7 separate regions of the Homo sapiens genome follow, and all the other regions are linked to region 7. Evidence: promoter capture Hi-C in 16 types of primary human blood cells and fetal thymus (Javierre and others, 2016). All regions are on one chromosome and are shown on one strand. The core of a region is centred on a gene start or on the middle of the fragment in contact, and the rest is flanking DNA. Distances in the headings are between cores, read along the strand shown. Region 1 holds the start of POLM (DNA polymerase mu). Region 2 has its middle 41 kb from the start of MYO1G. Region 3 overlaps GCK (glucokinase). Region 4 holds the start of MYL7 (myosin light chain 7). Region 5 has its middle 5.1 kb from the start of GCK. Region 6 holds the start of PGAM2 (phosphoglycerate mutase 2). Region 7 holds the start of NPC1L1 (NPC1 like intracellular cholesterol transporter 1).

The links. The method cuts DNA at HindIII sites, captures the fragments that hold promoters and counts their contacts. A CHiCAGO score of 5 or more calls a contact.
Region 1: a contact is called between the fragment with the promoter of POLM here and the fragment with the promoter of NPC1L1 in region 7, in 3 of 17 cell types (M2 macrophages, M1 macrophages and M0 macrophages). The highest score is 7.1, in M2 macrophages.
Region 2: a fragment that was not itself captured here is called in contact with the fragment with the promoter of NPC1L1 in region 7 in 5 of 17 cell types (non-activated CD4 T cells, total B cells, monocytes and 2 more); the score reaches 7.9 in non-activated CD4 T cells.
Region 3: a fragment that was not itself captured here is called in contact with the fragment with the promoter of NPC1L1 in region 7 in 7 of 17 cell types (M1 macrophages, M2 macrophages, total CD4 T cells and 4 more); the score reaches 8.3 in M1 macrophages.
Region 4: the fragment with the promoter of MYL7 here is called in contact with the fragment with the promoter of NPC1L1 in region 7 in 3 of 17 cell types (M2 macrophages, erythroblasts and total B cells); the score reaches 8.0 in M2 macrophages.
Region 5: a fragment that was not itself captured here is called in contact with the fragment with the promoter of NPC1L1 in region 7 in 3 of 17 cell types (M1 macrophages, M0 macrophages and M2 macrophages); the score reaches 8.4 in M1 macrophages.
Region 6: the fragment with the promoter of PGAM2 here is called in contact with the fragment with the promoter of NPC1L1 in region 7 in 8 of 17 cell types (M0 macrophages, erythroblasts, M1 macrophages and 5 more); the score reaches 7.8 in M0 macrophages.

The regions. Positions count from the first base shown.
Region 1 is chr7:44,081,280-44,084,717 of GRCh38, reverse strand. POLM (DNA polymerase mu) reads left to right here and starts at 2,188. Exons shown (of 11, transcript NM_013284.4): 1 at 2,188-2,467. The coding sequence starts at 2,280. RefSeq lists a silencer at 1,623-2,202 and an enhancer at 1,914-2,414. The HindIII fragment of the contact is 8,170 bases long and covers 1-3,438 here.
Region 2 is chr7:44,936,543-44,940,383 of GRCh38, reverse strand. No RefSeq gene overlaps it. Among named protein-coding and RNA genes, the nearest start is that of MYO1G, 41 kb to the left of the region's middle. The HindIII fragment of the contact is 1,716 bases long and covers 1,403-3,118 here.
Region 3 is chr7:44,158,819-44,162,404 of GRCh38, reverse strand. The region is part of intron 1 of GCK (glucokinase); the gene reads left to right. Among named protein-coding and RNA genes, the nearest start is that of MYL7, 19 kb to the right of the region's middle. The HindIII fragment of the contact is 6,327 bases long and covers 1-3,586 here.
Region 4 is chr7:44,139,590-44,143,045 of GRCh38, reverse strand. It overlaps MYL7 (myosin light chain 7), which reads left to right and starts at 1,714. Exons shown (of 7, transcript NM_021223.3): 1 at 1,714-1,743; 2 at 1,972-2,085; 3 at 2,259-2,334; 4 at 2,619-2,723; 5 at 3,186-3,264. The coding sequence starts at 1,741. RefSeq lists an enhancer at 2,060-2,902. The HindIII fragment of the contact is 19,152 bases long and covers 1-3,456 here.
Region 5 is chr7:44,192,569-44,196,477 of GRCh38, reverse strand. No RefSeq gene overlaps it. Among named protein-coding and RNA genes, the nearest start is that of GCK, 5.1 kb to the right of the region's middle. The HindIII fragment of the contact is 3,272 bases long and covers 1-2,895 here.
Region 6 is chr7:44,064,296-44,067,920 of GRCh38, reverse strand. PGAM2 (phosphoglycerate mutase 2) reads left to right here and starts at 2,354. Exons shown (of 3, transcript NM_000290.4): 1 at 2,354-2,805; 2 at 2,909-3,089. The coding sequence starts at 2,392. DBNL (drebrin like) reads right to left here. Exons shown (of 13, transcript NM_001014436.3): 13 at 1-3,625. RefSeq lists a silencer at 1,338-1,407 and enhancers at 2,588-2,657, 2,718-2,767, 2,958-3,017. The HindIII fragment of the contact is 4,752 bases long and covers 1-3,625 here.
Region 7 is chr7:44,539,321-44,543,160 of GRCh38, reverse strand. NPC1L1 (NPC1 like intracellular cholesterol transporter 1) reads left to right here and starts at 1,831. Exons shown (of 19, transcript NM_001101648.2): 1 at 1,831-1,955; 2 at 2,819-3,840. The coding sequence starts at 1,902. RefSeq lists an enhancer at 2,538-3,159. The HindIII fragment of the contact is 6,836 bases long and covers 1-3,840 here.

The DNA.
Region 1 (3,438 bases), core at 939-3,438, 460 kb after region 7:
TTACAATTCTGCAAAGGTGGTTTCACCTCCACGGCAGGCCACCTCTCCCTGGGTATAGGGCACATCTTCGTCCTGCAGAGCAGGCAAGTCCCTCTCTCTCCCCACCTCCTCACCCCTTCTTGCCCCCACTGGCCAATCTTCATGAATCCTTCAGCCCCATGTTGTCCTAGCAGACACTTTGCAGCAACCACTCAGAGGGCCTGGCTGATTTCTAAGCTAGGCAGTTTCTTCCACTGTCATTTGGATGAGATTCCTTGCACAAACATTTTTGCACAGTTGCCCAGTGTTTTAAGTATTCAGGTCTCATAGTCTTAAAAACTGCCTCTGCCTTCCCAGGAGAGAACAAGGGCTCCAAGGGGAGCCCAGGTGCTCTGGCCAGACAGAGGACATTAAAAGGAACAGAAATGGTTTTAGACAGCTAGAGGGATCTGCTCAGGGGATATTTGGGCAGAGCCTCCTCCTTGAGAAGGGTAGGAGCCAGATCCACAGACGAAGACCCTTAGAGCCTGCCCATCCCTGCTGGCACAAGGGGAGGATGGGGAGAGAGGGACCATACGCAGGCCTCCTGGCTTCTGTATGTGGGTCCTGAGGCCCAGGAAGCTCTACAGCCCTGAAGAGGTAGATGAATTAGGAGGCTGGGAGATGGTGTAGGAGGTCAAGAGGATGCCTGGGCTGAGCCATCTCCCCCACTCCCCTCAGCCCTGTGCTCTGAGTGCAGAGATGGGGAAGAGCCAGCCCACTAAAGATGTCAGAGAGGAGCCAAAGAAAAAGGATAGGTGCTCAAGGAGTCTGGGGCTCAAGACTGAGGACGATGGGGCAGTGATGAGGAGAGGCATGTGGAAGGGGGTTGCATCTGATCTGGTGTCCCATCAGTTAGGCTGAGCAGTGCCACACTACCGTAACAGAGGTTACAAATGGAGTATATCTAAATAAGATAGACAGAAGACTTGATATTATCAAGACATCAGATTTCCCCAGCTTGATCTATAGATTCAATGCAATCCCAATCTTGGGAAAGGAATTGCTGGATCAATGTGTATTATTTTGTTTTCATTTTGTTGGATGTGGTTGCCACATTGGCTTCCACAGTCCTTCCTATGGATTGCCAATTACCTCGCACCTTCAACATGTGTGGTCAATTTTTTTGAATGTTTGATAAACCCACAACTGAAGATATTCTCATTTAGGTATTCTGTAACGACTGGACAGGTTGGGCACTCTGGTCATAAATTTATTGACCAGGATTTCTTCTAAGAATCATCTACGTGAGTTTTTTTGCTAATTTTTCTATTAAATTATTGTCTTTTTATCTATGGACAATTTGATAAGATTATCATGAGATAATCTTAATTCCAAAATATCTCACACTTTATCCCAGTTTATCTTCTGACTCTAATTTTTAATCAGATTTAAAATTTGTCTGTAGTCCAGTTTATCATTCTTTTCCTTTAGTGTTTCCAAGTTTATTGTGATATTTAGATCATAAAAACATTCACCGACTTTTTTCCAGTACGTTGTTGGTTTCCTTTTTAGATGGAAATGTTTGACCCATCTGGAATTTATTTTGGTGTTAAGGAATGAGGAAGGGCACCAACTTCTATTTTTCCAAATGGCCTGCCAGTTGTCCTAATGCCATTCGACTGAAAAATCTTCCCGCGTGTTTGAAGCGACCGCCCCACCAGCGCATTGGAAACCCGCGTGTCGGTCCTGCGCCCGCCGGCTTCCGTGTGACAGTCCCGAGCGCAGAGGGATCGGGCACAGCCCGCACGCGTCCGCCCCGAGCCGCCGGCTCAACCCTAGACCCAGCCCCGGCGCCAAGGACACAGCCCACCCCGCTCCGCCCGGGCCTAGGTCCCAGTTCACCCTCCCTAGCCGGGGACGCCCCCTTGACCCCGCCTCCTCCACCCCCTCCAACACCCTCCCCGCCCCGCTCCAGCCCAGCCTCTCCTCCCGGAGGCCAATGGGGCCGAACAGCGCTTTCCGAGACATTAATTTAAATAAAAGGCGGGTCCTCTGCCGTTATTTGCATGGAGGCGGGTCTTCCGGAGCGGCCGGGACACCCAATCCTGTAGGAGCCCGGACCCTCCCCAGCGCTCCGACTGGCCCAAGTAGCGAGCCCCACGGAGAGGCCTCATTTGCATAGGGCGGGGCCACGTCCTCTTCCAGCCGGCGGCCGCCCGCCCGCCCACCCGCTTCCGTCAGCCTCACTGGGGCTTCCTTCCGTCTCGCTCGGAGTTTCCCTCTGCGTTCGCTCCGCGCTGCTGGAGGCTGTCGTCCCAATGCTCCCCAAACGGCGGCGAGCGCGGGTCGGGTCCCCTAGCGGCGATGCCGCTTCCTCCACGCCGCCCTCGACGCGCTTCCCGGGAGTCGCCATCTACCTGGTCGAGCCTCGCATGGGTCGCAGCCGCCGGGCCTTCCTCACAGGCCTGGCGCGCTCCAAAGGCTTCCGCGTCCTTGACGCCTGCAGGTGCGGGGCGGCGCGGCGCGGCGAGGGCTTCCATGGCACTTCTGGTTTTGGATTCTAAGTTTGCAGTGGCACTTCGTGGTCTTGTGACCTTTCCCTGAGCCTCCATCTCCTCTTCTGTAAAGGGTGCTATTAATTAGGGCGAGGCGTGTTTTAAAGGATCACTGCGAGAATCAAAACCAGAGGTCAGGGGTAATTAATAAGCAGTAGGCCGGGCGCGGTGGCTCACGCCTGTAATCCCAGCACTTTGGGAGGCCGAGGCGGGCAGATCACGAGGTCAGGAGATCGAGACCATCCTGGCTAACACGGTGAAACCCCGTCTCTACTAAAAATACAAAAAATTAACCGGAGGTGGTGGCGGGCACCTGTAGTCCCAGCTACTCGGGAGGCTGAGGCAGGAGAATGGCATGAACCTGGGAGGCGGAGCTTGCAGTGAGCCGAGATCGCGCCACTGCACTCCAGCCTGGGCGACAGAGTGAGACTCTGTCTCAAAAAAAAAAAAAAAAAAAGTCGTATTTGCTAACAGCCCTTCTGCCTGGGCTATGTCCCACCTGTGAGCGAGACTGACTTCTCAAGAGGCCCGGAGCCCGCAGGCTCCTCTGTCCTCAGGCCTGAGTAAATAACACGACTGAGAAGCTCTTGTAGGAAGGGAACCAAGAGAAGAAAAAATGGCGGCTACAGAGACAACACCCAGAGTAAGGGAGCTGGGGGTGCCCCCTAGTTTGGAGGTTGAGAGAGCAAACGAACCTGGGGCTAGTATTCCCCCACAGTTGTGTTTGATTTTTTAACATTACCAGGGATCAGTAGTGCGCCAGACCCACTCAGGAGAGGATGATAGCAGCTTAGAGTGTACAAGGCACTATCTTTGTACAACAACCCCACAGGGTGGATATGTTATCTCTGCTTTACAGAAGAGGAAATCAAAGTATAGACACGTGGCTTGCCCAAGAGCCAAACAAGTATGTGGCAGGCAG
Region 2 (3,841 bases), core at 1,011-3,510, 400 kb before region 7:
TAGTGACTCTTTCTGTCCATGAACATGGGGTATCTCTCCATTTATCTAGTTCTTTGATTTCTTTCATCAGAGTTATATGGTTTTTCTCATATAGAACTTGTACATATTTCTTAGATTTATACCTATTTCCCCTCCCCCCCCCCTTTTTTTTGGTGCTAATATGAATGCTGTCTTTTTAATTTAAAATTTCAGGCCAAGTGCAGTGGCTCACACCTGTAATCCCAGTGCTTTGGAAGGCCTAGTTGGGATGCTTGCTTGAGGCCAGGAGTTCAAGATCAGCCTGGGCAAATAGCGAGACCCTGTCTCTACAGAAAAAATTAAAACTTAGTTGGGCATGGTGGCATCCACCTGTAGTCCTAGCTACTTGGGAGACTGAGGGGAGGACTGGTTGAGCCAGGGAGTTTGAGGTGACAGTGAGCTATGATCACACCACTGCATTCCAGCCTGGGCAACAACAAAGTAAGACCCTGTCTCTTAAAAAATTCAATTGTTCATTACTGGTATATAACAAAGCAATTTGACTTTTATAGATTAACCTGGTATCCTACAACCTTGCTATAATTGTTTATTAGCTTCAGGAGGTTTTGTTTTTGTTTTTGTTATTCACTACATAGACAATCATGCCATCTTTAAAAAGTTTTATCTCTTTTTTAGTTTTTATTATTTATTTATTTTGAGATGGAGTCTTGCTCTGTTGCCCAGGCTGGAGTGCAGTGGCACAATCTCAGCTCACTACAACCTCCACCTGCCAGGTTTAGGCGATCCTCCCACCTCAGCCTCTGGAGTAGCTGAGATTACAGGCGCCCGCCACCACGCCTGGCTCATTTTTGTGTTTTTAATAGAGATGGGGTTTCACCATGTTGGCCAGGCTGGTCTTGAACTCCTCACCTCAGGTGATCTGCTCACCTTGGCCTCCCAAATTGCTGGGATTACAGGCGTGAGCCATTGCACCCGGCCTTATTTCTTTTTTAAAAAGTCATCCTGGCTGGGCACGGTGGCTCATGCCTGTAATTCCCAGGACTTTGAGAGGCTGAGGTGGATGGATCACGAGATCAGGAGTTCAAGACCAGCCTGGCCAACATAGTGAAACCCCATCTCTACTAAAAATACAAAAAAAAATTAGCAGGGCATGGTGGTGGGCACCTGTGGTCCCAGCTACTTGGGAGACTTAGGCAGGAGAATCGCTTGAATCCGCGAGCCAGAGGTTGTGGTGAGCTGGGATCACACCACTGCACTCCAGCCTGGGTGACACAGCAAGACGCTCAAAAAAAAAAAGTCACCCTGTATACCTTTTGTTTTCTTTCCTTATCTTATTGCATTAGCCAGGTTGCCCAGTACAATGTTGAAAAAGAGTGGTGAGAGGGAACATCCTTGCTTTGTTCCTGATCTTAGTGGGAAAGCTTCAAGTTCCTCATCATTAAATATGGACAATACTCATTTCTATTTCTGCCATCCATTGGGTCTACAGATATCATTAAGTTTAAAACGTGACACAAACCACAGCTTGTGTTGATTAATTCCCCTGAACATTACACATTTCTTATATACTAGATTCTTTCCAACAAATGCATTGTATTTTTAAATTTTGTGTCTTCAAAAGGTCAAATTGATCTTTCTATTTCTTTTGTCACATGAATGTACATGCACAAATATATACGTGCAACATGTATATATGATCATATAGACATATATAGCAACATAGATACAGATGTTACATACATATAACCAGTTTAGCTGAAGAGCTCTAGCTCATCGGCCCCTAATGCAGAGTTTCTGGCAAGTAACTAAGTATGTCTATTCCTGACATCTATGAACAATTTGGGAAATTACCGAAGGTGGGTTTGCAGAACACTGGGCCCACTACAGCACCACCTTCCTCAACCTCCACCTGCTCCTCTCTGATTTGTGGTCCACAGAGGTTTCTCTGGGTCTTTGCTCATTCCCCTTTCCCCAGAGCACAGCTGTCTTGCAAGCACCTCTGGAAACACCTAGGAGAGAGAGTCACAGCCCATTTCTGTGGACATGCCCCAGGGTCACCTTTCTTCAATGGGTCCCACTTTGTGACGTGGCTCAGATTCAGGAGTGGAGAAAGAAGTCTCCAGTTTCCATTTTAGTAACTCAGAGCAGGGTAAGAGGTTTTGTTTTTACAGTGTAGATAAGACCCTGGTAGGCTGCCCAACTCACTCAGTCCTAGGATTGATACCATAATTATTTTAGTCATTGTTCTAATGGCTTCTAATAATGCTTTTATTGGTACAATACCTGCTAAGAAATTTATAGCAGATGGTATCATTAGGTAATGGGAACACACATATCTATAAGTCATGGCCATTGCTTTTTGGTCATTTTCACTAATCCAGACAATTAAGAAAATCCACTTTTATACTTATTCAGAGGTCCCCACTTCTGCTCCCACTGCCGTTCAGCTCAGACTTGTGTCTTGGAGAAGAGTTAATGTGCATGTGTCTGTGAGGGGTGATATGCCATCTCATCCCCTCTATCTTTTTTCCAATGTCTTACCCCCTCAGGGTCTCTCATCCACCTGGGGCCCAGCAATGTTGTGGCTGAAGAGGGGATGATTCTGGTTCCTGCCCAGTTGTGCCCCATCTGTCACTGACGCTGTTAGAGGGTGGGAGATGCAGCAGTCTCAGCTGGCAGGGGGCTTGCTATGTGACCATGCACAGTTTTATTTGGGGGGCTGACCTCTCTCATGTGGAGGACGCCCTTCACCAGAATAGAGCAGCCACGGCCCATGGGCCCCTTGAGACGTGTGTGCCTCCACCTCTTTTCTGTTTGGGGAGCCCTTTGCTCAGCCTGGAGGCCCTCCATGGGGCAGCAGGTCCTCTGCTCCACTGGCTACACCCTATGCTCCATCATTTTAGGCCAGAGAAACACCAGGGCCTCTCCTGTGCCCAGTGAGAAATGCAAGACTCAAATCGGAGTAAGTCCTTGTCTCTAGGGAACAGTACTTCCCATTCTCTTTGCACTCTGCCTCGATTCTTACCCTGCTCCTGCCTTCAGAAGTCTCCAGATGATCAATGCCTGTAAGTCTCACCCTCCTGACTTCATGGGACAGGTGTGCAGGGGAGGGCTGGGAGAAGGGCATTATTCTCAAGCTTCTAGAAAGTCTTTTCTTTGACTCTACTCTCACAGGAGCCTTCTTATAGAATGTAGTTACAAATCTCAAATCGATTTTGGAATTTCTAAAATATGGAGACAGCCTGGAGTATTGACATGGCATTCATGAATGTGCTGGGGAGACTGCCAAGCACCAGCCCAGAGAAAACAGCCTTCAGAATTTCAACTTATTTTGTCACATGTAATTTTATAACACAACCACAAAGTTTCCTTGGCTATTCAAAGAATCAATTCAGTAATTTTTTTTTACATTTATTTATTTTTCTATTTGCAAGACAGTTGTCTGTTAAGAGATGACGCTCACAAAACTTTTAAACTATGATAGATTTCAGTAAAATCACTGAATACTAAAATATAATAAAACATTAGGGCCAGGCACAGTGTCTTACGCCTGTAATCCCAGCTACTCAGGAGGCTGAGGCAGAAGAATCACTTGAACCCAGGAGGCAGAGTTTGCAGTGAGCTGAGATTGCACCATTGCACTCCAGCCTGGGGAACAAGAGCGAGTCCTCATCTCAAAAAAAAAAATTAGACTACAAAAAGCAATCAAACTCGATGCTCCCAGATAGCCTGCTCTCTGACAGTGAGTGAAGGAGCCCAGAATGTCTCCTCTAAGCTGCAGACCCCACAGTTTACTCTTTCCAAGCAATGAGCTTATTGGAGCTTATTTGAAATAAAAGGCTGCTGCATGTTCCTGTGGTCA
Region 3 (3,586 bases), core at 799-3,298, 380 kb after region 7:
CTGCTGTAAGCAAACACTTGCAACATCATGCTGACCTCCAGGCCCTGTTGCATCAGCGTGCCCACACTTGGTGCCCAGCTGGTACTGAGGGTATCAGGGAACAGGCCAGTGGTGGAAGGGCGGACACTTTGGGTTCCCTGGTTTCCTGGCTCCCAATATCTTTCCCAATGGCATATGGGGTCTAGCAGCTTGGCTCATTTAACTGTGAACCTCTACCCTTTAGAATCTGGGCCTCCAGGCTTGCTTCTGTGCAAAATGGCAGATAAGGCTCAACCTTTCTTTTTTTAACTTCATTGTTAAATATTACTCCATTAATACCCATTTACTGCAGAAAAGGTAGGAAATACAGATAAGCAAAAAGGAAAATAAATTAAAATCCTCATACCACCATCATCAAGATAATTACTGTCACCATTTTGGTATATTTCCTCCCAATACATATATTATCTATATCGTATATACGACAAAAATGGATCATACTATGTTTCCTGTTCTTCCCCTGTGTTAGTCATCTATTGCTGTATAACAAACTGCCTCAAAACTTAGTGGCTTCACCTTTCCGTGTATTATGATGACAAGAATGTGGTATGACACTGTCTTATATCTGGATCATATGCTAAAAGATAGAAAATGGTTTCTAAACTTATTTGTTCTGTAATAACAAAATTTTATTTCATAAAGTGTTTTTAAAAAAAACCATAGTAGCTTGAAACAACAAACCTTTGTTATCTCACACAGTTTCTGTAGGTCAAGAATTCAGAAGCAGCTTAGCTGGGTGGTCTGGCTTGGTGTCTCTCCTGAGGTCAGGGTTTTGGCTGGGGCTGCATCACCTGAAGGCTTGACTGGGGCCAGAGGAGCTGCTTCCAAAGTGGTCCACTCACATGGCTGGCAAGTTGGAGTTGCGTATTGGCAAGAGACTTCGCTTCTTCTCAATGGATCTTCCCAGAGTTCTTGTAGGCAACCTCATAGCATAGCAGTTGGCTTCCCCCAGAGGGAACAGTCCAGGAGAGAACAAGGCAGAAACCACAGGGTCTTTTCTGGCTTAGGCTCCAAAGTCATACTCCACCATTTCTGCATTATCATATTAGTTACACAGGCTAGACCTATTCTGCATGGAAGAGACTATACCATGGGGTGAATACCAGAAGCAGGGCTAATTGAAGGCCAGCTTCAAGGGCGGCTACACATTCCCTTTCAACAGTATGTCATGAACATCTTTCCATGCCAATAGAGCAGATGAATCTTACCATTTTTAATGACTACATGTAAGTGTAGCATAATTTATTTAACCAACCTCCTGTAGTTGGGTATGTGGGTTGTGTCTCGTTTTTTGATAGTAGAATTAATCATCTTGAATATCCATCACCAAACTTGTCATATTATTTTCTTTTGATGAATGAAAAAGAAAATCAAGTCATGTCTGTCAATCAGAACCCTGAGCAACTAAGAAATGGGGGTACCACTGGGACATAGAGCAAGGTCCCTTCTGATTCTGCTCTTGTCTTTCTCTCCCCATGAAATGGGGAGTTCACTATCTACTGAGACATCCTAGCCCACAGCTGCACAGTTCTGTCTTTTTAGAAAGCTCTAAGCAGAAACAATGTTCATCCATCCTCCTCGGGACAGCCCTTGAGCTACTGAAGACTCTAAGCATGTCCTGGTCATCCTCCATGAGCCATCATCTCTGAGGCCCTCCCCTTCTTGGCCCCTCTTCTCTGGACAGGTTCTGGACAGTCTTGCCCTTCCAAAATTCCTGGAAAGCAGGAACTGTTCCTGCTACAATGACTCTCAACTCCAGTGCAGTACAGACTGTTGGTGTCACCCCTTATCCTGAAGAAGAGGCACTGAGACAGGACAAGGGTGGGTGCCCAGGAGGGCTGGCATGAGTCATGAGAATCTGGTCCCGGAGAATTAGACGGTGTGGGGAAGTAGGGGTGTTGGGCCGCTTTCTGGCCTCATGGATGCCAATGAATATCAGCAGGTGGCTCCCAGAAAGGAACTCTAGGGGATGCCTGTTGCTCTAAATAGAGGCTAGAGAGGGCACTGGCAGTTCAGTCAACCAAGAAAGGGGGCCCACTTGCCTCAGCTTCAGGCTTTGTACACATCCTCAGCCTTTCTTGAGAACTGAATTTAGATTCTCCTCCCCTGTGCTGTGTGCTTGGCCCAGAAGAAGGGCAAGTCTCGCTGGGTGGCTGCTTCTTGGCCTGGCTGAACCAGAAGGCCCCAGTGCCACTCCAAACCTGGGTGTGAGCCCTGCCCCCATGAGCAAACAGTAGCTCAGAGCTGGGGGCTGTGGGGGTCAGTGGCCTGTCACATGAGATCTGATGAGGCCATCTCTGCTCTATATTGGGAAAGGGATCAATTGTATCAAGGGCTTTCTTGGGAGTGATCACTCTGGCCATTGGCGAGAGACCTGGCATTCTGACAAGGCACCCTCCATACCCTGACCCACTTGCCAGCTCCAGCTAATTTTAGCAGGCTTTGGCAGGTGCCAGCAAGTACATAGCATGTGGATGTCACTCCCAGGTGAGCCCAAGGAGAGGCCTGGGCCAGAGCCTGGAAGTCATGGTCTATGCCCATGGAGGCACCCAAAGCAAGCCTGAGGCCTGGACTTTGCAGTCACAAAATTAAGAATGATACCCCTGTTTTTTGTTTGTTTTTGATCAGTTGGCCACCTTCCTCCACCACCCCTTCCCCAAGTTCCATACAGACCCCTGGATTGTATGAAATGCAAATCGAACCTCTCTGCAGATGAAAATCCACTGGGGATCCCCTTGCCTCCAAGAGCAAGTCCAGACCTGCACCAGCGCGGGCCAGGCCCCCTTAGGACCCCCTCCCTGTCCAAGGGCATTTCAGTAAGTGTTCTGTGGCCAAGGCAGCCTGGTGACTTTCTGCCCGCACAAGGCTGAGGAATGGAAGATGGGTAGGCTGGCTCTGCACACCCCCTCCTGCTGGGCAGCAATCCCTACCCCATGTTCACAGAGTGTGGCCGGCTGCCCCATGGCTCTGTCCCCGTGGCCCTGTCAACTGTTACCCACATGGCCTACCCTCCCTTTCTGCCCTGCCTCTGACCCCATGGCAGGGGGCAGAGTATTTGAGCAGCCGCCAGGCTGAGCCCTTTCAGTGCAGAAGCCCTGGGCTGCCAGCCTCAGGCAGCTCTCCATCCAAGCAGCCGTTGCTGCCACAGGCGGGCCTTACGCTCCAAGGCTACAGCATGTGCTAGGCCTCAGCAGGCAGGAGCATCTCTGCCTCCCAAAGCATCTACCTCTTAGCCCCTCGGAGAGATGGCGATGGATGTCACAAGGAGCCAGGCCCAGACAGCCTTGACTCTGGTAAGGGTCACACCAAAGTTAGGGACTTTGCACTGGGAGAGCAGCACCCAGGGCAGGGCCCTTGGTTTTGCAGATTACCAAAACTAAGGCTGGGGGCAGGGAAGGCGAGCAGGCTTGGGGCACCTTGGAAGGAGGCACATGGGCCTTGGGGGTCCTGGCTAGGGCAGCTGTGCCTGCCACTGGCCCTCTGCCCACCACCCCTCCTCACTGTGGCTATCCAGTGTCCAGCCTCTCGAGGGGTTCTAGGGTACTTA
Region 4 (3,456 bases), core at 465-2,964, 400 kb after region 7:
AATTAGCCGGGCATGATGGCGGGTGCTTATAATCCCAGCTACTCAGGAGGCTGAGGCAGAAGAATTGCTTGAACCCAGGAGGCGGAGGTTGCAGTGAGCAGAGATTGCACCACTGCACTCCAGCCTGGGCAACAGAGCGAAACTCTGTCTCAAAAATGAATTAATTAATTAAAAAAAGAAAAAAAAAACACTGGGCAGGGTGGTGTGCACCTGTAGTCCCAACTACTCCAGAGGCTGAGGCAGGAAGGAGCACTTGAGCCCAGGAGGTTGTCTGCAGTGAGCTCTACTCATGCCACTGCACTCCAGCCTGGGTGACAGAGCTCAGTGGCTTACACCTGTAATCCTAGCACTTTGGGAGGCTGAAGCAGGCAGATCACCTAAGATCAGGAGTTCGAGACCGGCTGGCCAACATGATAAAACCCCGTCTTTACTAAAAATAAAATAAAATAAAAAATATATATAAAAATTAGCTGGGTGTGGTGGCACATGCCTATAATCCCAGCTGCTTGGGAGGCTGAGGAACAAGAATGGCTTGAACCCGGGAGGCAGAGGTGGCAGTGAGCTGAGATCGCGCCACTGCACTCCAGCCTGTGCGAGAGTGAGACTCTGTCTCAAAAAAAAAAAAGGGAATTTAAGAAATTTAAAAGAAAACTCTTGTTATATAAAAAGGGTATTGGGTCTGACAGATAAGAGCTCCTGCACTCTACCAGCCAGCTACTGACAGACATAGGTCTGGCTCCAGTGGAGGGGCAGCAGCCAGTGAGCCCAGCCTGGGGTGGCCCACTCCTGCTGCCTCCAGGATGTCCCCTGTTTCCCCAGCCCCTCTGCTGTGCCCTCGGCCCCAGAAGCTGGCGAGACTGCTTCTCTGGAACAGCATCACGCAGGCCTGCCCATCGGCCCACTGTGCACCAGGCCTTCTGGGGATACAGATGTCAACCAGGTGGGGTGCTCAGGAGGGGCACAGAAGCCAGGAATGACAAACACATCAGCCACCAGGCAAATGGGAAATGTGCCCCAGAAGCTCCCTGCTGAGGATGTTAGGGAGAGCATTCTGAAGTAGTGTGGTTGAGATGAGGCTTGAGGAAGGCAAGGCTCCAAACAGCAGGGCAGACTGGGAGCAAGGTAGACTGCATGGGAGGGCAGCTGATGGAGCTCCTTAACCCTCTGGAATTGCCCCAAAGCCAAGCAAAGTGTTCTTCTTGGGGTCACAGCTAGCTCAGGGATGCCTTCTGCCCCTTGGTCAGAGGGGCAAAAGGTCAGAGCCTAGGGTCACCAAAACCTCTGGGAAGCCCCGGGGGTCTCAGGCCACAGACCATCCTCAGAACTACACACTGCCCTCCCATGCCTGGCGGGGGCCCTGGACTGGCCCTCACCAGCTGTCTTCTTGCACTGGCCAGGGTTCTGGCTGGACTGGCAAGGAGGGGTGGTCAGATACAGGAGTAACTGGATCCCTTCATCAGGACCTAGGGTGGTGAGAGCTTTGAGCCTGCTCTGCTCCAGGCAGACATTGTGTCTGGCCCTGCCAGGATGGATAGACAGCAGGATGTTACACGTTGAGGACATGAAGGTCATCAGGAATGTGGCTGGAATCTGTTAGGCCTCCCCCAGCCCAGGCGGGGGCTGCCAAGTTTGGGCCTATCCTCTGTTCCTCTCCTTATTTGGACCTTCAGGTGATAAGGCTGAGACATAAAGGAGGCTGGGCCCTGCCACCACGACAGCAGCCACACCTCTGCAGAGAGAATGGTGAGTGCCTGCTGGGGAAGAAAGGCTAGCGGTCTCCCAGGTGCTGGCCTTTGGGCTGGGGGAGCAGAGTTTTCTGTGCTTGTGTTGGGTTGAGGGTGGTCCCCAGGGAGAGGAAGAGGATCCTGGCCCTGGCTCTCCTGGGAATGCTCTGGGACTGTGCATGATGGGTGGGGTGGGGAGACTCTGAGGAGTTGGGGAGAGGACCCCTCCCTACTCACAGTGTTGCAGGCCAGCAGGAAGGCGGGGACCCGGGGCAAGGTGGCAGCCACCAAGCAGGCCCAACGTGGTTCTTCCAACGTCTTTTCCATGTTTGAACAAGCCCAGATACAGGAGTTCAAAGAAGTGAGTGCCCACTCCCAGTAGCCTCAGATCCCATCCTGGCCCCCCCACCCCACCCCACATACATACCCCCCTTCTACCCTGACCTTGCCTCTCACACCACCCAGGTCTCTCCCCCACCTCCCACCTTCCCTAGAGCTGGGGGCTGCTCCCACCTGAAGGCCCCCATCCCACAGGCCTTCAGCTGTATCGACCAGAATCGTGATGGCATCATCTGCAAGGCAGACCTGAGGGAGACCTACTCCCAGCTGGGTGCGTGCACCCACCTCCCACCCTGCGCACTGGGGTCCCTACTCTGAGCTGCTGGGCGGGTGGGAGTGGCTGGGGGGACAGGACTCTGCTCCCCTGCTTCCCCTCCTCCCCGTCTCCTCACACTGCCCTTCCCCCCTTGTCACGCCTTGCTTCCACTTCACCTTCCCGACCCACAGCTGCCTCTGCCCCTCCAGCCCCTGTGGCCAGGATGGAGGGAGGGCGGCCTGGGCCTTCTGGGGGACACCCAGGGTCCCTGTGTGCACCTCATGCCCCACCCCCACCAGGGAAGGTGAGTGTCCCAGAGGAGGAGCTGGACGCCATGCTGCAAGAGGGCAAGGGCCCCATCAACTTCACCGTCTTCCTCACGCTCTTTGGGGAGAAGCTCAATGGTGAGCCTGGGACAGAGCTGGGCACCCTTGGCCAGGCAGGGAGCCTGCACCCTGCCTGAACCCCACCTGAACCCTGCCTGAACCCCACCTGAACCTTACATGAACCCCACCTGAACCCTAACTGAACCCCACCTGGACCCACCTGGACTCTTCCTGGCCATGACCCATTCCAAGCACATCCTCTGCCCCAGAATCCCATGTGCACTGGTCACCCCAGTGCTGACTTGGAGCCAGGAAATGTGCCTTCAGCCCCCACCCCCAAATTCCAGTCTCCCAGCCAAGCTGCCCGCCTCAGGAGGATGACCATTCCCAGCCCCACTGATCCCCGAGAAACATTTTATGTTAGGGAATACCCCCACCTCTTCTGGGATGTGGGAGGCTCCTCATGCAGCCCAGTTCCTCCTGCGGGGGACCTGGGATGCTGGAGACATGGATGCTCACCTGGCTGCCTCGGCCTTCCAGGGACAGACCCCGAGGAAGCCATCCTGAGTGCCTTCCGCATGTTTGACCCCAGCGGCAAAGGGGTGGTGAACAAGGATGAGTAAGTATGGGCCCAGCCAGATGAGGAGCACCGTGGTGGAAGCAGAGAGCGGGGTGAGGCCCCTAGTGAGGGGGGCTGCCTGTGCTTCGGGGCCTTACACTGCTCTTTGGGGTGCAGCCAACCCTTCCCTGCGCCATGGGAGCCTCCGTACCCACCTTCCCTGTGCAGTCACTCCCCCGCAGTCTCCTGCTC
Region 5 (3,909 bases), core at 10-2,509, 350 kb after region 7:
TCAGGAAGACAGCGCTTGGATGGAATAAATTTCAGTGTATCCACTTGACACATTATAGTGGCTGTCCCAAAGTTTACCTTATGCCAAGTACTTTCCATGTGCCACATCATTTAATCCTCACAAAAACAGGGGAAAATATTATTGCCACCCTACAGACATAGAGACTGAGATTCAATTTAAGGAGATGGTTGGTAAGGGACAGAGTTGGGGTTCAGATGTCAACAGTGAAATGCTTAACAAACTGTCATGCAGCCCACTCCTGGCAACTCTTCCTGCTCCTCTCTGGCCTCACTCAGCCTCTACTGTTCCAGGAAGCCTCATTCATAGTCATGTGGTTGCAGACTTCCCAAGCTCACTGTGTTACCAAAAAGCAAGACCTGCCTTCTGCTGCATCGCCCCAGCTGTCACCCAACTTGGATTCAGTCCCAGCACTGACACATCACAAAATCACAAAAGTGAGCAAACCATTACCTCCCTGAGTCTCCTTTTGTTTTTATCTATAAAACTAGAAAAATATTCTTTCCATAGGAATGTTGTTGGAAATAATAAAACATTATATTACAAGCTCTAGTCATTGTTGATGTTTAACAGGTAACAGTGATAATTATTTGTCTTCTCATTAATGAAGAAAAGGATTATTAATCATAGAGGGTGGAAGGCATCTATGGGAAGTAGAGATTTGAAGATAGGCTAAAACCCAAGTAAGGCCTCTAGATTAGATAATAGTATTGTATCTATTTTAATTTCCTGCTTTCCATCACTGTGCCATGGTTATATAAGAGAAGTCTTTGTTTATAGGAAATATACACAAGAATTTAGAAGTAAAGGGACATTGTGTCTGCAACTTACTCTTACAGGGTGTGTGTGTGTGTGTGTGTGTGTGTGTGTGAGAGAGAGAGAGAGACAGAGAGAGAGAGAGACAGAGAGAAAGAGAATGATAAAGCAAATACAGGAATCAGGATGAAGCGTATCTGTTTGTTTGTTTTGCTTTGTGACAGGGTCTTGCTCTGTTGCCCAGGCAGGAGTGCAATGGTGTGATCCCGCTCACTGCAACCTCTGCCTCCCAGGTTCAAGCGATTCTCATGCTTGTATTGTTCTTGCACCTGTTCTGCAAGTACAACATTGTGGGAATGGAAAATGCAGGAAATGGGCAGTAAGGCTATGAACGAAGCCCGCACAGGAGTGTGGGTAGCAGAGTTCTCTAGTCCAGGCTCCCACCTGAGGTGCTGGGACCTAGAAGAAAAGCCTCTCTGCAGACAGAACTGGAGTTAACGCTGTCCACGATAAATGGCCCAGGCCCTGTTAAGTTTGCCCCATTGAGCAAAACAAGTACCCACCCGCCTTTGCAGCCTTGCCTAGCTCACATAAGGTGCCAGCCCTTGCTGTACAGCAGAACCTTTGGGGAGCTGGACAAAAGCCTATCAAGGAGCATACCCCCAGGAAGCCCAGTCCAGGTGGGGAGCCCAGCCACACAATGGCCCTTGCCCCCACACCTCCTCATTCAGTCAGCTAAGGCCATGGCAGCTGAGCTGCCTCCACAGCTCATATAGGAAAAGGGTGTGGAAAGGGGCCACCAATGTGGTCAGGCCTCCATGGCCTGAGTAGGTCACCAAGCCTCAGGTGCACAGACTTGATGTCATCAATCAGGGTCTGTCAGCACACCTAGCCCTCAGGAACACTGCTCCCCACTGCAACCCCACACCAAGGCATCCTGGGCTCCCTCTGGGTTCTCCAGGCCCCAGGGAAGACAGACAGAGTCTGCCACCAAAGGTTTGAGCTCTGCCACTGGCTACGAAGCAATAGGGGATGTCAGAGCAAGGGAGGAACAGGACAGGAGTATACGTGGGCAGGAAGGGATTACAGCCAAGGAAGACAGGAGGCAGGTGCCCTGATTTTGAGGCTGTGCCCCAGCAGGGGCTTCCCAGAAGCTGTATTTGTCCTAAGACACCCCTCTGCAGCTGAGGGGCTAGAGATGGATATGTAGCTGTGTTAGGCCATTCTTGCATTGCTATAAAGAAATACCTGAGACCAGGTAATTTATAAAGAAAAGAGGTTTCATTGGTTCACAGTTCTGCTGGCTTTGCAAGAGGCATGGTGCTGGCATCTGCTCAGCCTTTGAGGAGGCCTCAGGAAACTTACAGTCATGGCGGAAGGCAAAGGGGAAGCAGGCACATCACACAGTGGAAGCAGGAGTGAGAGAGAGAGAGGCACTGGGAGGTGCCACACTTTTAAACAACCAGATCTCGTGTGAACTCAGAGCAAGAGCTGACTCATCACCAAGGGGATGGCCCAAGCCATTCATGAGGGATCCACCCCCATGACTCAGACACCTCCCACCAGGCCCCACCTCCAATATTGGGGATTACAATTCAGATGAGATTTGGTGGGGACACATATCCAAACCATATCAGTTATCAGTAGCCATACTGGATGAATGCCAGGAACTTAGAATTAGGACACATGGTCATTTAGGCAAGTGGCTTGTCCTGTCAATGGTACCCTGATAGTCGTGGGGTTGCCCCGTACAAAAAGCGAGAGGAAGTCTACAGAGCTGTCAAAGAGGGGCAGGTGGAAAGGCCTGCAGAGGAGTCCCCTGCTCCACAACCAGGCGTGCACCTCCCACATCCTCGGGGCTGTAGGCCCCACATGAGAGCAGAAAGAAGGATGCAGAGGAAGGCCAAGAACACAAGGTGTGCCCTTGGAAAGGCTGGGCACACCAAACACAACCTAATAAACAACAGCAATGAGCACACAGGGAAAGTACTCACAGGGAAACCATCATGAACTAGAGGCTGATCCCACACCCTGCCACATGGGGCCCCAGGCCCCAGCCTATCAACCAGTGGTCCTTATTGCCACAGCGATTGGTCTTTGGATAGGCACCTGATGCAAGCTTCAGCCAATCAACAGGCCACTCAGCTGGCCATCAGTAGGCCATCCAATCAGAGCAAAGCCCAGGACTTTCTTCGACTCTTAAGAAAAGAGAAGCAAAGTAACTGGCACAGATTGGAGAGGATCAAGGAACCCCGAGCTGGATACATACAAACTTTGGGTTAACATGGATGATTAAATACATATGTTTATGTGAACCACCTCCCAAATATGCTCCACTATAATGACACAAGACAAAGGGCAGGGGGAGACCAATTGCAAGGTGGCGCAAATGAGAGATGCTACCAAGGGTGGCGGGGGAGAGAGGGGAGCAGTTGTCAAGTTAGGAGGCAACAGGCTGAGGGACAGGGACCAGCAGACGGGGAGGGAGGGGCTGAAGCAGAAGTGTCCAGTGTCTGGAGGGATGGGGCCAGAAAGGCAAGGGGCATCCTGAAGAAGCTATACCTGGGGAGGGCAGCTCTCTCCCCACCTGCTCCCCAATTCATCAGCCAGGAATGCCCCATCCACCCCACCCCAGGGAGGAGGACAGAGGACTTTCGTTTGGGAGCATTGAATGGTTCAGAGATTCTGCAACTCTGCGGTCCCCAACTAAACTGCTCATTGTTTCAAGCAGTCCCTGTTGGGTAAATGTCCCCCATTGTAACCGGACTCGGATTCCACCGCTTGAAAGCCAAATACAAGAGGAGAGGTTTGGTGGGAGGAAAAGTGGTTTTAACTAGAGCCAGCAAACCAAGAAGATGGTGAATTGTTGTTTTAAAGCATTCAATTATCTCAAATTTTAAAATTTATCATAGGATTCTGAAAGGAAAACTTGGTATGGGACATACGTGGGAGCAGTGCAGGGTACAGGGTCTATGTGTCTTGATCCAATGGCTGTCTTGAGTATCACCTATCCTGAGGTCTGGTTGGTGTTATCTTTCCTTCGGCCAGATGGTGGTGGGTGAATTGTTTCGACTCCCCCTAAGTTGGAGGATTCCGCAGGGGTTCCGTGTCTGGTTTTTGTTTCAAGATTAGCCC
Region 6 (3,625 bases), core at 1,105-3,604, 480 kb after region 7:
TTGAGGTTTCAAGCCGCCTGTGTGTCCAGGCTAGGCAATACTTGTTACCTCACCACTTCTCTGCGGAACTTTGAATCTGATCTCCTTTTCTTATCTGTCTACTGACAGCTGCTCCTGCATCTGTCCAGGATTGGTGGCTGTCAGTGGGAGAGACATGGGAAGATGCTCCCTCCACCTTCCTGGGACCACCTTGTTGACTCAGCAGCCTTCCTCGCCGCCCACCATGCTATGCCTTCCTGGATGGAGGCCCTGAGGGTGGCTTTTGGTTTTCCTACCCCTGTACCCCTCCAAGAAAGCTCTGGCACACTGCAGAGGCCAGCAACTACTTGTCAAATGAATCAAAGGAAAGTCAAGCCGGAGCCAAGGGTCAGAAGCAGGGGCTTGCTTCCCCGAAGTCCAGCCCTTCTTTGGGCTCCCCTTTCCTTTTTGACACCTCCTGCTTGGTTGGCAGTGAGGTCTCCCAGGTCTGGGGGATCCTTGCCACTGCTTCTGCACCCAGCCCTGGCTAAGCGGCCTTGTTCTCATCAAAGCTGCCGAGACCTGCAGGGTACTCAGCTTCTACTTCCACTCCTACACAGCTGCAAGTGACTTGAAAATATGACCATGCTTCAAAGTCTCCAGTGATTCCCACTGTGTTGGGACACAAAGCCCACCTCTCTGCCATGTGCCCCTGATGGTCGCTGCCCCAGCTTGTTTGCTTTCTGTAGGGCTTGGGTCTTTGCCAACCCCTCTACCTGAATTGCTCTCCCTGTAGGACTCATCATAGCTGAGGCCTTTGCACTCCGCTCTTTCCACTCACATGTCACCTCAGGGCTGTCCCCGGCCTCTCCTTTCCCATCTCTCCCAGTACATTATGGTCCTTCCTTCCTAGCATCTGGTGCTATCTACGGTAGGCATGTTTAGCTGCTGGTACGATCCCTCCTCCACTGAAATATGGGCTTCATGTCTGGCCCCTGTGGGACTGCCAGAGCCTGGTCCTCAGTCATGTTTAGTTGGGCTAGTGAATCAACTCTTGGTCAAAGGGACAAAAGCAGATGAGGAGATGTGGCTTCAATCAGGATCAGTGTGGAACAGTGAGACCTGCGCATGGCACTGCTAGGAGGGATGGGTTCCACCTGCCAGCCTTGGGGGTCCTGGCAGCCGACAGGACTTTGCCCACTGGGACTTGTCTGCCAACCTTTGGGTACAGAGCCTTAGCTTCACAGGCCCCAAGCCAGGAGCCCCTCCCCAGGTAGGCCAGCAGGGATGGAGGGAGGCCTGTCGAGGGTTTCTTGCACACTCAGATCCAAGTCTCAGAGTGGTGGTCCCTCTGCTGGCCTCTCACCTACCCGCTCCTGTTATCAGAAGTGTCGCAGGTGACAGTGTGGTCACTGGGGTGGGAGGAAATGGGAGGCCCTGGATGGGGCCCATGCCCAAGGGTCTGGCCATGGCCCCTTCATTAGGGCCCCAATTGTGACTTTATTGCTCATAGTCTCTTCCCTGCCTTGGTGGCTCTCATCCCCCAAACCTGAATGCAGAAGTCTTGGTCCTAGACTCAACTCCGTGCCACCCTTCAGCCTACGTTGTGGGTTCCTGCTAAGCTGAGCATTTACCTAACAATCAAGACTTCTGACAGTCCTCAGTCCTGCCCCCAAACCCCCTTGGATTTCTCTTTTTCAAGGTGGTTTCGGCTAGGAGAGTGAGCGTGGCTTGGGTGAGGGCAGATAGGGTGGGAGCATGGGGCATGTATGGATGAGACCTTGACAAAGGGACCCCGGAGGAAAGACAGGGGCCCTTTCCCCCTTTGTCCTGGAAACCCGGCTCAGCCCCAGCCCTTGCCCATTCTGCTGCTGCTGCCTGGTACCTTCCACAAGGCCAGACTCCTCTCCACAAAGCTGTGGTCTGCACCAGCTCCTCTGGCTCTCCTCCTCTGCCTGCTGAGGGCCGCCTCCTAGCCTGGCTGCCAATCACAGGAGAAAGGGGTTGGGATTTTGTTTGTGCCTCTGTCTGAGCAGAGAATGGCTGATAGGCCACTGAGCGTTGCCCTGGAGAGCCCCTCTGTCCCTGCTATCCCCATCTCCCCTGGCCCAGACTTCTGCCCTTCACGCCCATCCCTGACCAGCAGCCCCACTCAGTCTGGGCTCTGGGTGCCAGCTGGTTATAGACATGCCACCTGAACCCAGGCCAGGAGCTGGTGGATGCGTGGGGCTATTTTAAGCACAGCCTCTTGGCCTGCACACTCCCCTGGCCCCCAGCCCCCAGCAGCTCAGCTACTGGTCACCTGCCACCGCCTGGAATGCTGATTGGCAGTTGGCTGGGGTGGGTGGGGGCTGGGAAGACACTATTATAAAGCTGGGAGTGTTGGGAAGCAGCCGTCCCCGTCCAGAGTCCTCTGTGGTCCCTGCTGCCACCATGGCCACTCACCGCCTCGTGATGGTCCGGCACGGCGAGAGCACATGGAACCAGGAGAACCGTTTCTGTGGCTGGTTCGATGCAGAGCTGAGTGAAAAGGGGACCGAGGAGGCCAAGCGGGGAGCCAAGGCCATCAAGGATGCCAAGATGGAGTTTGACATCTGCTACACGTCAGTGCTGAAGCGGGCCATCCGCACCCTCTGGGCCATCCTGGACGGCACGGACCAGATGTGGCTGCCTGTGGTGCGCACTTGGCGCCTCAATGAGCGGCATTACGGGGGCCTCACAGGCCTCAACAAGGCAGAAACGGCCGCCAAGCACGGGGAGGAGCAGGTGAAGATCTGGAGGCGCTCCTTCGACATCCCGCCGCCCCCGATGGACGAGAAGCACCCCTACTACAACTCCATTAGCAAGGTGGGCTGCCTTTGCTGGGAAGGCCTCTGGGAAGCTGCAGAGTGGGGAGTCGGGTGGGGGCCCACTGGCTTGGGAGGGAAAGCAGCGTGCCTGTGTCCCCCAGGAGCGTCGGTACGCAGGCCTGAAGCCCGGGGAACTCCCCACCTGCGAGAGCCTCAAGGACACCATTGCCCGGGCCCTGCCCTTCTGGAACGAGGAGATTGTTCCCCAGATCAAGGCCGGCAAGCGAGTGCTCATTGCAGCCCACGGGAACAGCCTGCGGGGCATTGTCAAGCACCTGGAAGGTGAGGCCACCTTCAGGAGCCTGGGCAGGGTGGGTGGGCAGCAGCCCCAGCTGGCTTCTCATCTCAGCAAAGTCTCTCGCCCATGGACCAGGCTTTCTAGGCGTGGGGCTCCACATCATTCACTGAAAAAGGAGGGCTGAGAAGCCATTTTTTAGTTTTGTGAAATTTTCCCCATTTCTGTGTAACTGGGACACACTCCACAGGGGCTGACTGCACTCGAAGCTCGCTGTGTCCCGAGGTGGGGCAGGCTCCAAAGGTGGCATCTGCCAAGGGACACCCAGCTAGGAAACGGAAGGGCTGGGCTTAGAGCATCTGGCTCCAAATCCCAACTTACTGTGGGGCCCTGGACAAGCCACCTCCATCTCTGGGCCTCTCCCTTTTCCGGGGTGGTGGGGAGCTCCCCCTGGTACTGAATTCCTCTTGATGTAGGCTTGGACCCCTCGCAGGGCCCTCCCCCATCAGGTCCTCAGAATCCCTGCATGAGCTTCACCACCTATCTCCCTCTGGAGCCCCTCTCTGGGCAAAGGAAAGACCAA
Region 7 (3,840 bases), core at 582-3,081:
TGGGTTGGGAGATCGGGTGTGAAATTTTCACTGTCATTCCGAGCCGGATTGTGCCGCTGTTATGCTGCGTGTGTTTCACAAATGACCCCAGGAGACCACATAGCTGGACTCTATCTCTCTGTGGTGCTAGACTGGGCACAGCTGGGCTCCAGGGGCTTAGCCTAGACAGCCCCCATGGGAAGAAACATATGAAAGGCAGGGTGGGCCTTTCATATCTTTGTTCTGACACAGCTCTGTGCATGCCGACAGTGTCTTCTTGTCGCAAGTGCCCACGGCCCTGCCTAAGGCCCTTTGACACTGAAGGTGCCCGCCACGTGCTGGGGCGAAATCTTCCAGGAATGTCCTCTACCAGTGACAGATGAATGTGGTGGAAAGCTGTCTGTGTCCTTATTCCTTGGAGGGGACCTTCTTGGGCACGTCCCCACCAGTTCCCGGAGGTCCCTGGGGGCAGGAGCAAGCTCTTGGATGCATTCTGGTCAGCTTTCTTCCATCCCCTGGCTCATTCCCCATTCACCGACTGCTGTCATCTGGGGTCATCTCCCCAATAAACTCTTTGCACTGGGATCCTTGTTTCAGGATCTGTTTCTGGAGGAACTAGATGACAACACCGGGAACAGAGGACCTAGAGAGGCAGCTTCATGGGTGGTGGGGTGTCCGCCTCTGCCGGCCAGGGACTTGGGAGCAGTGCTGGGAAGGTGCTGGATGGAGCTGTCACTCACAGGGGCAGGTCCTTGGCTGCTGACTGTCTTCCTCTCCACTATGGCTGTCTTGAGAACTTAGGGGTCAGCCTGACCCTGCCTTGGCCCCCTTCCTCTCAGCCTCTGTCTTCTCCTGCATGAGGCTGGGTGGCTCCCCTGTGAATCAGGCAGGGGTCCACAGAACACTAGAGACAGGTCCCTTCCTGCAGCTGTCTCCAGTAGGTGGCCACGCAGGAGATGTTCCCAACAAGCTGCCCTTATCTGCAGCTCAGCTTTGGTAATGGGGGCCCATTACCAAATGGGGGTAAAGGTCATGGCCCATCCTGGTGATAGTGAGAACCCAAGGTAGGCCTTGAAGATTCCTATCAGGAGGGAGCAGAAAGTGTGTACCACACCCCTGGGCCCAGGTGGAGCAGGGCTGCTGCTCAAGGCTCCCAGCCATGCTCTGTCCCTTGCTAGGGGTGACCGGTGGGACAGGCCTGGGCAAGGGACAAGAGGGAGAAGGTCGGGGGGAAGAGGGGATGAAGAGCAAAGTGAGCAAAGGAGAGTCTTCCACTATCTGGGGTCTCTGTCAACTGTCAGGCCCTAGAGTGAGCTGTTCTTTCCCTTTGCTTCCTGGAGGAGGGGACTTTTGTCACTGCGTCACTCCACCCTGCCTGCCCCTCCGTTATCAGGCTGTTAATATTAATTAACAACAGTTGCTAGGGATGACAGTGCAGAGGGTTCCTCTGAGCCCATTGCTGGCCCTGGTCCCAAGAGGGGGTAGGGCAGAGCTGGGGTCTGAGGCTGAGCCAGGGAGGGTGCGGAGGTTCCTCGGCCATGCTGAGCTCCTGAGGCCGGGTCCCAGCCAGTGCCTGGTCCCATCTGTGCCTCCAGGCCCTGGCACCAACTCCAGCAGTGTTAGGGGCTAATAGCGTGGTCTCTCCCCTAGCTGACTCAGCCCTCTGGCTTCGGTCGCTTTGGGAAGTGAGTGGAGACCCTAGCACCTGCGTGATGAGGCTCATCTAAAGCGGGGGCCTGTGGACTGGGGCCAAACAGTGGGAGTGGTGGATCATTAACCAGCAGGGCTCAGCCTCATTGGTCCCTAACCCAGTCAGGCCAGGGTTGTCATCGAAGGGGAGGAGGCTGCCTTAATGTGTGTTCAGCCCTTGGCTGTTCCTGAGGCCTGGCCTGGCTCCCCGCTGACCCCTTCCCAGACCTGGGATGGCGGAGGCCGGCCTGAGGGGCTGGCTGCTGTGGGCCCTGCTCCTGCGCTTGGTGAGTCCCAGGGCTTGGCTCCACCTCCCCTGCGGCCTCCAGTTAGGGACCCTGGGGCCAGCCGTGTACCAGGCGAGCGTTACTGGGTGACAGCAAGGGAGCCTCAGGGCCTGCGGGCTGGGCAAGTCTCTGGACACATGAGGGATGCCAGGCCCCACAGAGGAGGGGTGCAGGTGGAGGGTTTCCAGGTTACAGGCTTGAATGCACACAGGGGTGAAAGAGGCTGCTGGACTGGGGTGCTCCAAGTCCCTCCTGTCACTGGCCCTACTGTGGGGTCCAGGCCTGCAGTTGAGGGAGGTCTGAGGCAAGGAGGTGCTGGGATGGGGTTACCTGGTGAGCATCACCTAGGGAGGACTGAGCACTCTGGAGGCTGGGAGAAGATCCAGCGCTGGCACCTCTTAAGTTCCTCGCTTACTTTGTGTCTGGGAGGTGGGTGACAGCTTTTGGCCTCAAGCAGGTGGTGGTAGTGGTGGTGGGAGTCGGGGGGCCTCCTGAACAGACTCTCCATGAGAGACCCTGGCCTCTGGATGTGGTGTACAGTGTGGGGACTCAGGCTGACTTTGACGTGGGCAGAGCCCGGGACCTTGGAGTCAGCTTTGCCTCCTTACCCATCTCTGGCCTCTCCAGCATGACTTTCCTAAGCTGCAGGTCTATCAGGCCACCCCCAGGAAGAAAGGCCAGTGTTGTCACTCCAACACTGGCTGGCTGGCACATGCCTCCAGGAGGCTTCCTACTCCCCACACTCCCCGCTTCCCTGCCCCTGCTCCATGTCCTTCTTACCCTCACACCCTCCCTGGCTGCCTGCTGCCTGGATGGCACCCAGCTGTGTCAGGGCCCACGCGTGATGTTGCTGTGCTCTGCAGGCCCAGAGTGAGCCTTACACAACCATCCACCAGCCTGGCTACTGCGCCTTCTATGACGAATGTGGGAAGAACCCAGAGCTGTCTGGAAGCCTCATGACACTCTCCAACGTGTCCTGCCTGTCCAACACGCCGGCCCGCAAGATCACAGGTGATCACCTGATCCTATTACAGAAGATCTGCCCCCGCCTCTACACCGGCCCCAACACCCAAGCCTGCTGCTCCGCCAAGCAGCTGGTATCACTGGAAGCGAGTCTGTCGATCACCAAGGCCCTCCTCACCCGCTGCCCAGCCTGCTCTGACAATTTTGTGAACCTGCACTGCCACAACACGTGCAGCCCCAATCAGAGCCTCTTCATCAATGTGACCCGCGTGGCCCAGCTAGGGGCTGGACAACTCCCAGCTGTGGTGGCCTATGAGGCCTTCTACCAGCATAGCTTTGCCGAGCAGAGCTATGACTCCTGCAGCCGTGTGCGCGTCCCTGCAGCTGCCACGCTGGCTGTGGGCACCATGTGTGGCGTGTATGGCTCTGCCCTTTGCAATGCCCAGCGCTGGCTCAACTTCCAGGGAGACACAGGCAATGGTCTGGCCCCACTGGACATCACCTTCCACCTCTTGGAGCCTGGCCAGGCCGTGGGGAGTGGGATTCAGCCTCTGAATGAGGGGGTTGCACGTTGCAATGAGTCCCAAGGTGACGACGTGGCGACCTGCTCCTGCCAAGACTGTGCTGCATCCTGTCCTGCCATAGCCCGCCCCCAGGCCCTCGACTCCACCTTCTACCTGGGCCAGATGCCGGGCAGTCTGGTCCTCATCATCATCCTCTGCTCTGTCTTCGCTGTGGTCACCATCCTGCTTGTGGGATTCCGTGTGGCCCCCGCCAGGGACAAAAGCAAGATGGTGGACCCCAAGAAGGGCACCAGCCTCTCTGACAAGCTCAGCTTCTCCACCCACACCCTCCTTGGCCAGTTCTTCCAGGGCTGGGGCACGTGGGTGGCTTCGTGGCCTCTGACCATCTTGGTGCTATC